2 separate regions of the Homo sapiens genome follow, and region 2 is linked to region 1. Evidence: promoter capture Hi-C in 16 types of primary human blood cells and fetal thymus (Javierre and others, 2016). All regions are on one chromosome and are shown on one strand. The core of a region is centred on a gene start or on the middle of the fragment in contact, and the rest is flanking DNA. Distances in the headings are between cores, read along the strand shown. Region 1 holds the start of PRRT4 (proline rich transmembrane protein 4). Region 2 overlaps SND1 (staphylococcal nuclease and tudor domain containing 1).

Region 1 (3,455 bases), core at 833-3,332:
AATGGGCTTTTCTATGAGGAGGATTCAAAGAAAATGTCTCCAGTAGGATAACTTTTATTAAGCATATGAGAGAAAATTAGAGGCTGAATCCCAGTTTGCAGCCTCCGGGCAGCCCCTAATGGACTTGGGGGTGGGGGCAGGTTATGATAACCCCTGGGGGTGCATCTGGAGATGTCCTTTGCAATGCTTTGTTAAGGGACCTGGAATAAATCCCAGACTTTATCGTTGATGGCCCTGAGAGTAGTTCAGTTGGTGGCCTGATTTGATTTTACATGAATTGGCGGGGCTCTGTGATAAGGAAGATGCCTTTCTGAAAAGCAACCCATTGCCCATATGGACCCCAGAACCATTCATCATTATTCACTTATCAAATAGGCATGGACCATATCCACAAAGTGCTAAGCTAGCTCTCAATTACTGAGACAGAATCTGCCCTAGGTAACTCTTTAAGCAACACCAGCACCCGCCCCCCGCCGCCCCACACCCTGCAACTGCCACAACCTTCAAGAGAAGAAGAGAAGGGATATAGATGGAAAGGGAATTCAGGGTCATATAAAAGGCTATAACATGGTGACAATAATTTTTCTGTCTCTGTGGCTCGTGGTGACGAATAAGTAAGGAGACTCTTATAAAGCATCCACCATCATTCTTGGCACACAGTTGGATGTTTAGATTTTGAGGGAAAGTTTTAAATGGTGCAGGGAGACAGAAGTGTTTCATGTTCTGATACTTTTAAATTACTATCATTGTTTGAAGAAAACATGAAGGGATTTAGAGACTCAAAACCACATGAATGAGTCAGTAGTACTTCAGTTAGTCACTACTACAACTTAACAGGTTCCATGAAGTATACATAGTGACTGCTCGGTTTTCTTGGTCATCTTCAACCTGTGTCAGCTTTTGCCTGAGCTCTCTTACTTTCTGTGAAGGGGCACGCTCTTTTTTCTTTGTTTTTCCTTTTGAGACAGGGTCTTGCTCTGTTGCCCAGGCTGGAGTGTAGCGGTATGATCACAGCTCACGGCAACCTCCACCTCCCAGGCTCAAGCAATCCTCCAGTCTCAGCCTCCCAAATAGCTGGGACTACAGGTGTCTGCCACCATACCCCATCACGCCCAGATAATTTCTTTCTTTCTTCTTTTTTTCTTGCTTGCTTGCTTGCTTGCTTGCTGTTTGTTTGTTTTTATTTTATCTTTTGCTATGTTGCCCAGGCTGTTCTTGAACCCCGGGGCTCAAGCGATCAGCCTGCCTCAGCCTCCCAAAGTGTTAGAATTACAGGCGTGAACCACTGAACCCAGCCTTTGATTTTACTGTTCTCCTCACACCTCTTACTAGAAACCAGTTGTAATCCACTTCTCACAAGCAGCTTAGCTCACCATTCTTTCTGGCAGACATTTCTGAAACAGTATTTTTGAGAGATCAGTTTTAGCGAAAAGACATGTCACACAGGGATTGGCATTTGGCAGTTCACCGGTGAAGTGTTGGAGGCACTGCTGTGTAGCAGTGCAACTGTTGAAAACCACCAGGTGGTGGAGAGGGCCGGCAGGGAGACGGTTCGAGTTTCTACCAAGCTGTGCAATCTTGGGCAAATTCGGTAATTTTCTGTGTCTTCATTTAATTGTCTGCAAAGTGGCGACATACACAGGGTTGCGGTGAGGACTCATGAGATAAAGGAAGTAGAATTGTCCATTGTACTTCTACTTAGCAAACGGTGGGACTCTTATTGCCCGGGGTGCCATCCTGGGGCAGGCTGCCATGTGTGCGCGTGTGTGCGCGCGCCCTCTGACCTGCGAGTGTGTTTCCTGGCGCGCGTGTGGATGTGTGTGCTGGGCCGCCCTGGGAGTGTGTGATTGCTCTCGCCAGGCTCACAGCGAGGCGCCCGCCGCGGCTGATTGACAGCGCTGGGTGAATGAGCGCGCGTGGAGGCGCCCGGCACCGAGGTGGCCGCGGCTCCGCGCTGCTGTGAGCGCCTGCCTGCCCGCCCGGGTGTGGGGGGACCGCGGGTGGCGGGCTGGGTGGGAGGAGGAGGAGGAGGAGGAGGAGAGAGGGCGCGGGAGCGAGGGCGGGCGGACGGGAGGGCCGTCAGAGCCGGCTGCCGCGGAGCCCCGGCGCGGGCGGCTTCGCCGGGGAGCGAGGCTCGGAGCCAGGAGGCGGCGCCGCTGGGAGGGAGCGCGGAGTGCGGAGTGCGGAGCGCGGGGCCTGGCCGCCCGCCTGGTGAGAGCGCTGCGGGCCGGGGCTGGGCCGGGGGCGGCTCAGGGGCAGCGGGGCGGCGAGGCTGCGGTCTCTGGACTAGGCGAGGGGCCGCCGGGGGCTGGAGGTCCGGATCTTCAGTCGGGGCGCTGGGCACAACAGAGAGAAGCGGTGAGATACCACGAAGCGTTGCCCAGCTGGGCGCCAGGGCCGCCACGACCGCCCCTTTTCGGAGGCTCGGCGAGGAGACCTGCCTGCGGGAGAGACCCCGGGGAGCAGGTCGGCCGGTCCGGGCTGGGGGTGTGTGTGCGTGTGCGCGCGCGTGTGTGCATGTGTGCCTGCGAGGGGTGGTGGGCGTGTACGAGTGTGGGGGGATGGCGGTGTGTGGCATGTCTGTGTGTGTGAATGTGTGTAGGGGGTGTGCATCTCTGTACAGTACATGCCGTGTGTGTGTGTGTGTGTGTGTGTGTGTGTGTGTGTGAGAGAGAGAGAGAGAGAGAGAGAGAGACAGGGGAGGCCGGGGGCTCACAGAGCTTGGGTTTGAACCCATGCAGGGAGGAGAGTGGCTCGGCAGGACGGAGTGTGTGTGTGTGTGTGCGCGCGCGCGTGCAGGGGCAGGGGGGTATGTGACGGGTGAGTGTGTCACGGGCGCTAGATGTGGCTATGTGTGTGATGTAAGGGTGCCGGGTGCATGTGTGTCCCTGGCTCACCCTCCCTTCCCCCACCAGATGTGTGCGCACAGAGGAGAGAGTTCTGGGGAGGGGGTAGGAGTCCGCCGCAGCTGCCTGCAGTTCGCCCAGCTTGCCTGCCTGGCGTTCTCCTCCAGGAAGCCGGAGATCGCCAAGCTGCCCCTCCCCCGAATACTTCAAGGGTCCTAGGGAAGGGAACAGGCCCAGCCCCAGGAAACGGGAGGGGCGGGAGGGAGGGTGCTTCTGCCAGATTGGGAACCTTGCTTCTCTGGCCAGAGCCTGGGCGGCCTTCTGACTGGGCCAGATCACTCAGCTCTGGCTTTACCCCTCCCGAGGCCCTGTGCCCCCTGGGGTCTGAGAGTGAGGGCGCCAGCACTTCTGGCTGGGGCGGGAGGTGGGGGTTGGAATAGGTCAAGACATCGGAAGGGCTTGCTTGTTCACAGTTATATGCCCAGAAGGGTGCTTGGCAAACGGTAAGCCTGCGTAAAGACTTGAGGCTCAGCAGAGGGAAGGAAGAGAGGAATCCATGTCTGGAAGCCCAAGTCCATCCCTTTTGCTACTAGTTAAGGATGAGGGCCC
Region 2 (3,577 bases), core at 164-2,663, 670 kb after region 1:
GGAAGTCCAGGCTCCAGGAACCCACCTAGGCAGAGGGAAGTCATAAATAACAACTACCACCTCCATTTCTCCGCCTCTTTCCAGTTTCTAAAACAGTTTCACTGCCTATTAAACTAGCCTGAAACCAGTTAAAGCCATTGTTGGAGGAGGGACATGATTCTAGTGTTCTTATTTCAGAGTGAATCCCCTGCTCAAGTGAGCCTTATTTAAGTCATCTCCACTCCCCTCTTTAAAGATCAGCAATAGTAAGAAGATATCCCCCAAAATGGCTCTTCTTCTACTTCTGCTCTAGTCTGAAGCCTTTACAGGTCCCAACATCCTTGGGAGGACACCAGTAACAGCCCCTGACAAAGGATCACCTTGATAATGGTGATTCTTTCCTCTCACCGTTCCATGCACAGACACGAGGACTGAGCTACACATCCACACAGTAGAAGCAGAGTCTCCATGTCATCTCAAGATAATACACAAAGGGGTGGTTTTGCCCCTCCCCATCCTATCACTCCTGGGATGGTTCAGACAAAGGGAGATTCTCCTCTGAAGCCATTGGCACAGTGGCCACTGGCACTTGAACTTATAGTCTGGACCTGGTTTAATGTCCCAAGTTCCCTTAGTACCAAAATGGGGAGGGATGGGGTAGGTGTTCAAGGAGCGTATGATTAGTAGGAGCTCACATGCTGAAAAAAATGTGAAGTATAAAAGGGAAAAGTGATATACAATATGCATACATTGTCTATTATAATCTCTTCAAACCACAGAACTCATGCTACACACAGTAAAGGCAAAAGAGTAAACTGATGGCCTGAAAGGAAGCCTCTGTTAACCTTTTTGGTCCATGCTAATTATTCCATGAAGTCACCCAACAAGCTTTTCTAGAAGAAAAATATCCATATGACTTCTAAGAAACCAGAAACCAATCAAAAGGTGGCAGGTCCACCAAACTGTTGGGCTGGTAGTCATAAAAACAGTACTGTTACATAACATAAATCATGAGGTTCTAGAGAACTGATCCTCAGTAAGGGTTCTTAAAGATGCAAAAATGAACAGATACTTGCTCACATCATGCCCTCTCTTCAAAGCAGAGGCCAACCCAATTCACTCAATGACAATATCAAGTTCACCTTGATTTTATGTCTCATTTCTACCCCCCACCCCAATCTCCAAAAATAAAATCAGATACCAGTCACCAAAGAGTCTGATGATTGACAAATGATCCCAATTATCAACCACATCACAGAAACAGCACCGAACCAATGAACAAAGCGTCCCAAATTTTTATTACCTTAGGGATCAACTTACTCCAAAAACATACACAGCTACAGATAAGTTTAAGATGTAGTCCTGAGTATTAATATTTAAAATTCAGTAACATAGAGCTTTCCTAAATACTTGGAAAAGCTCTGATAAGACCAGTGCTCCTAAAAGAGGCCAAGACTTTGGTGAAAACACTTTTACAAAAGGTCAGTTCACAGGAAAATAACTAGCCCCTGCAGGGAAATCTCCAATTTCTACCAACCAGGCAGAACTTTTCTAAAAAACTTTTAAGGCTCGCTGAAGAAACATCTTCCCCTTAGGACCTCATGTTTTCCAGCTGGTTAGTTACCGGTCAATAAGAGAAAACCACACTGGAGGTCTTGCAAAGGACATATGCCTAACCGTGTAAGAAAAAATAACCTAGTTTCTGCAATCTTCCTTCCTAAATAAGCCTTCTCAAGTGTGTTCCGTCCAGAGTTGGGCAAATTCAATAACTGGACAAGATATTAGTTAAGAAGAGAGGCAATCAAGAGACTCAAAGAGCTATAGAGGAAAGCAACTGACCACATCACTCCTCTGAGGGCAAGAGAGTGCTCTGGGACAGAACCCTTATGGAAGTGAGGCCAGTGTTACCCATGTGTCCACACAAAGGACAGCCAGGCAGAGGACTATCTGATGGAGAAGTCTATCCTAACAGAAGCTTGCTCAAATAAGGAAATTTGCTCAAAGCATTTATTCAAATAAGGGCCAGAATGGTCTAACAGGAAGAATAACTGTGGTCTATTCAAATGATGCCCCAGAGTCCCATCTAAGAAGCAAGTGGCTTTTAAGAAGTTGAGACTCAAAATTACTCTTTCCTTTAGAATGCCCAACTGCAGGCAATCTGGCGGCCTGCTCAGAACTTCCAGACCCAAGAAAGGTTGTCATATCTACCACAATGAAACTGAGCTTTTAATTCTAATCTTCTCTTTGACCAGATAGACTCTTAAAACTACCAGGACAAGATGAAACCCCAGAATGTAAAACCTTAACTAGTTACTAGGTAAATGACCCAACATTCAATACTTTTTGTCCCTCTTTCTCTTCCAACCACCCCACCGTGCCATCTGGATATGTAACTGATAATCCTGCTCTGCCGTCTTTCCCCAGCTACCCCAGTCCTCAACAGCTCCAATGAATGCAGGATTGTGACATTCATTTCTTTTTTAAAATAATAGCAAAATATGGCCGGGCCTGTAATCCCAGCACTTTGGGAGGCTCACGGCTGTAATCCCAACACTTTGGGAGGCCAAGACTCTTGGCAGGTCACCTGAGGTCAGGTGTTCAGGACCAGCCTGGCCAACATGGTGAAACTCCATCTCTACTGAAAATACAAAAAAAAAAAAAAAAAAAAATTAGCCAGGCATGTTGGCGCACGCCTGCAATCCCAGCTACTTGGGAAGCTGAGACAGGAGAATTGCTTGAACCTGTGAGGTGGAGGTTGCAGTGAGCCAAGATTGCGCCACTGCACTCCAGCCCGGGCGACAAAGCGAGGCTCCATCTAAAAACAAACAAACAAAAACAGCAAAATATTTATTTTTTTATTTTTTACCTTCTTTTAGTTTGTTTTATTTAATTATTTATTTATTTTTGAGACGGAGTCTCGCTCTGTCGCCAGGCTGGAATGCAGTGGCATAATCTTGGTTCACTGCAACCTCCGCTTCCCGGGTTCAAGCAATTCTCCTGCCTCAGCCTCCCGAGTAGCCGGGACTACACGCACATGCCACCACGCCCGGTTAATTTTTTTTGTATTTTTAGTAGAGACAAGGTTTCACCATGTTGGCCAGGCTGGTCTCGAACTCCTGACCTCATGATCCGCCCGCCTCGGCCTCCCAAAGTGCTGGCATTACAGGCATAAGCCACTGCGCCCAGCCACTTTTATTATTTTTTAAAGATAGTATTTCTTAATTTTTTTTTTTATTTCAATAGGTTTTGGGGAATGGGTGGTGTTTAGTTAAATGAATAAGTTCTTTAGTGGTTGTGACACTCATTTCTATATTTCTCATGAAAACATAAACAACTTTACCCGCAGCAGGAGCTCAATAATTCTGTGGGAAATAAATATATAATTCCCACAGTGCCCATCAATGCAGTATCTAAGCTGCCTGGAGTAGCTAGGCAACGCTGGGGATTAGCTTGGAACAGTGAAGAGATGGCTGGGGGCATACAGTGGGGCTGCTTTCATTGCCACAGGACTTAAGAGACAGCTGAGTTTCTTTGAAAGACGATATCATGACAGAAGGCAAAGAATAATCATGTGAAGATATTTGGGACAGTGATACAA

What was found. Contacts are between HindIII fragments. The CHiCAGO score rates a contact against its expected background, and 5 or more counts as called.
Region 2: a contact is called between a fragment that was not itself captured here and the fragment with the promoter of PRRT4 in region 1, in 1 of 17 cell types (neutrophils). The highest score is 6.8, in neutrophils.

The regions. Positions count from the first base shown.
Region 1 is chr7:128,360,317-128,363,771 of GRCh38, reverse strand. PRRT4 (proline rich transmembrane protein 4) reads left to right here and starts at 2,082. Exons shown (of 6, transcript NM_001174164.2): 1 at 2,082-2,211; 2 at 2,350-2,466. RefSeq lists enhancers at 2,147-3,015, 3,016-3,455. The HindIII fragment of the contact is 16,343 bases long and covers 1-3,455 here.
Region 2 is chr7:127,690,851-127,694,427 of GRCh38, reverse strand. All of the region lies in intron 2 of SND1 (staphylococcal nuclease and tudor domain containing 1), which reads right to left. Among named protein-coding and RNA genes, the nearest start is that of SND1, 40 kb to the right of the region's middle. The HindIII fragment of the contact is 1,087 bases long and covers 870-1,956 here.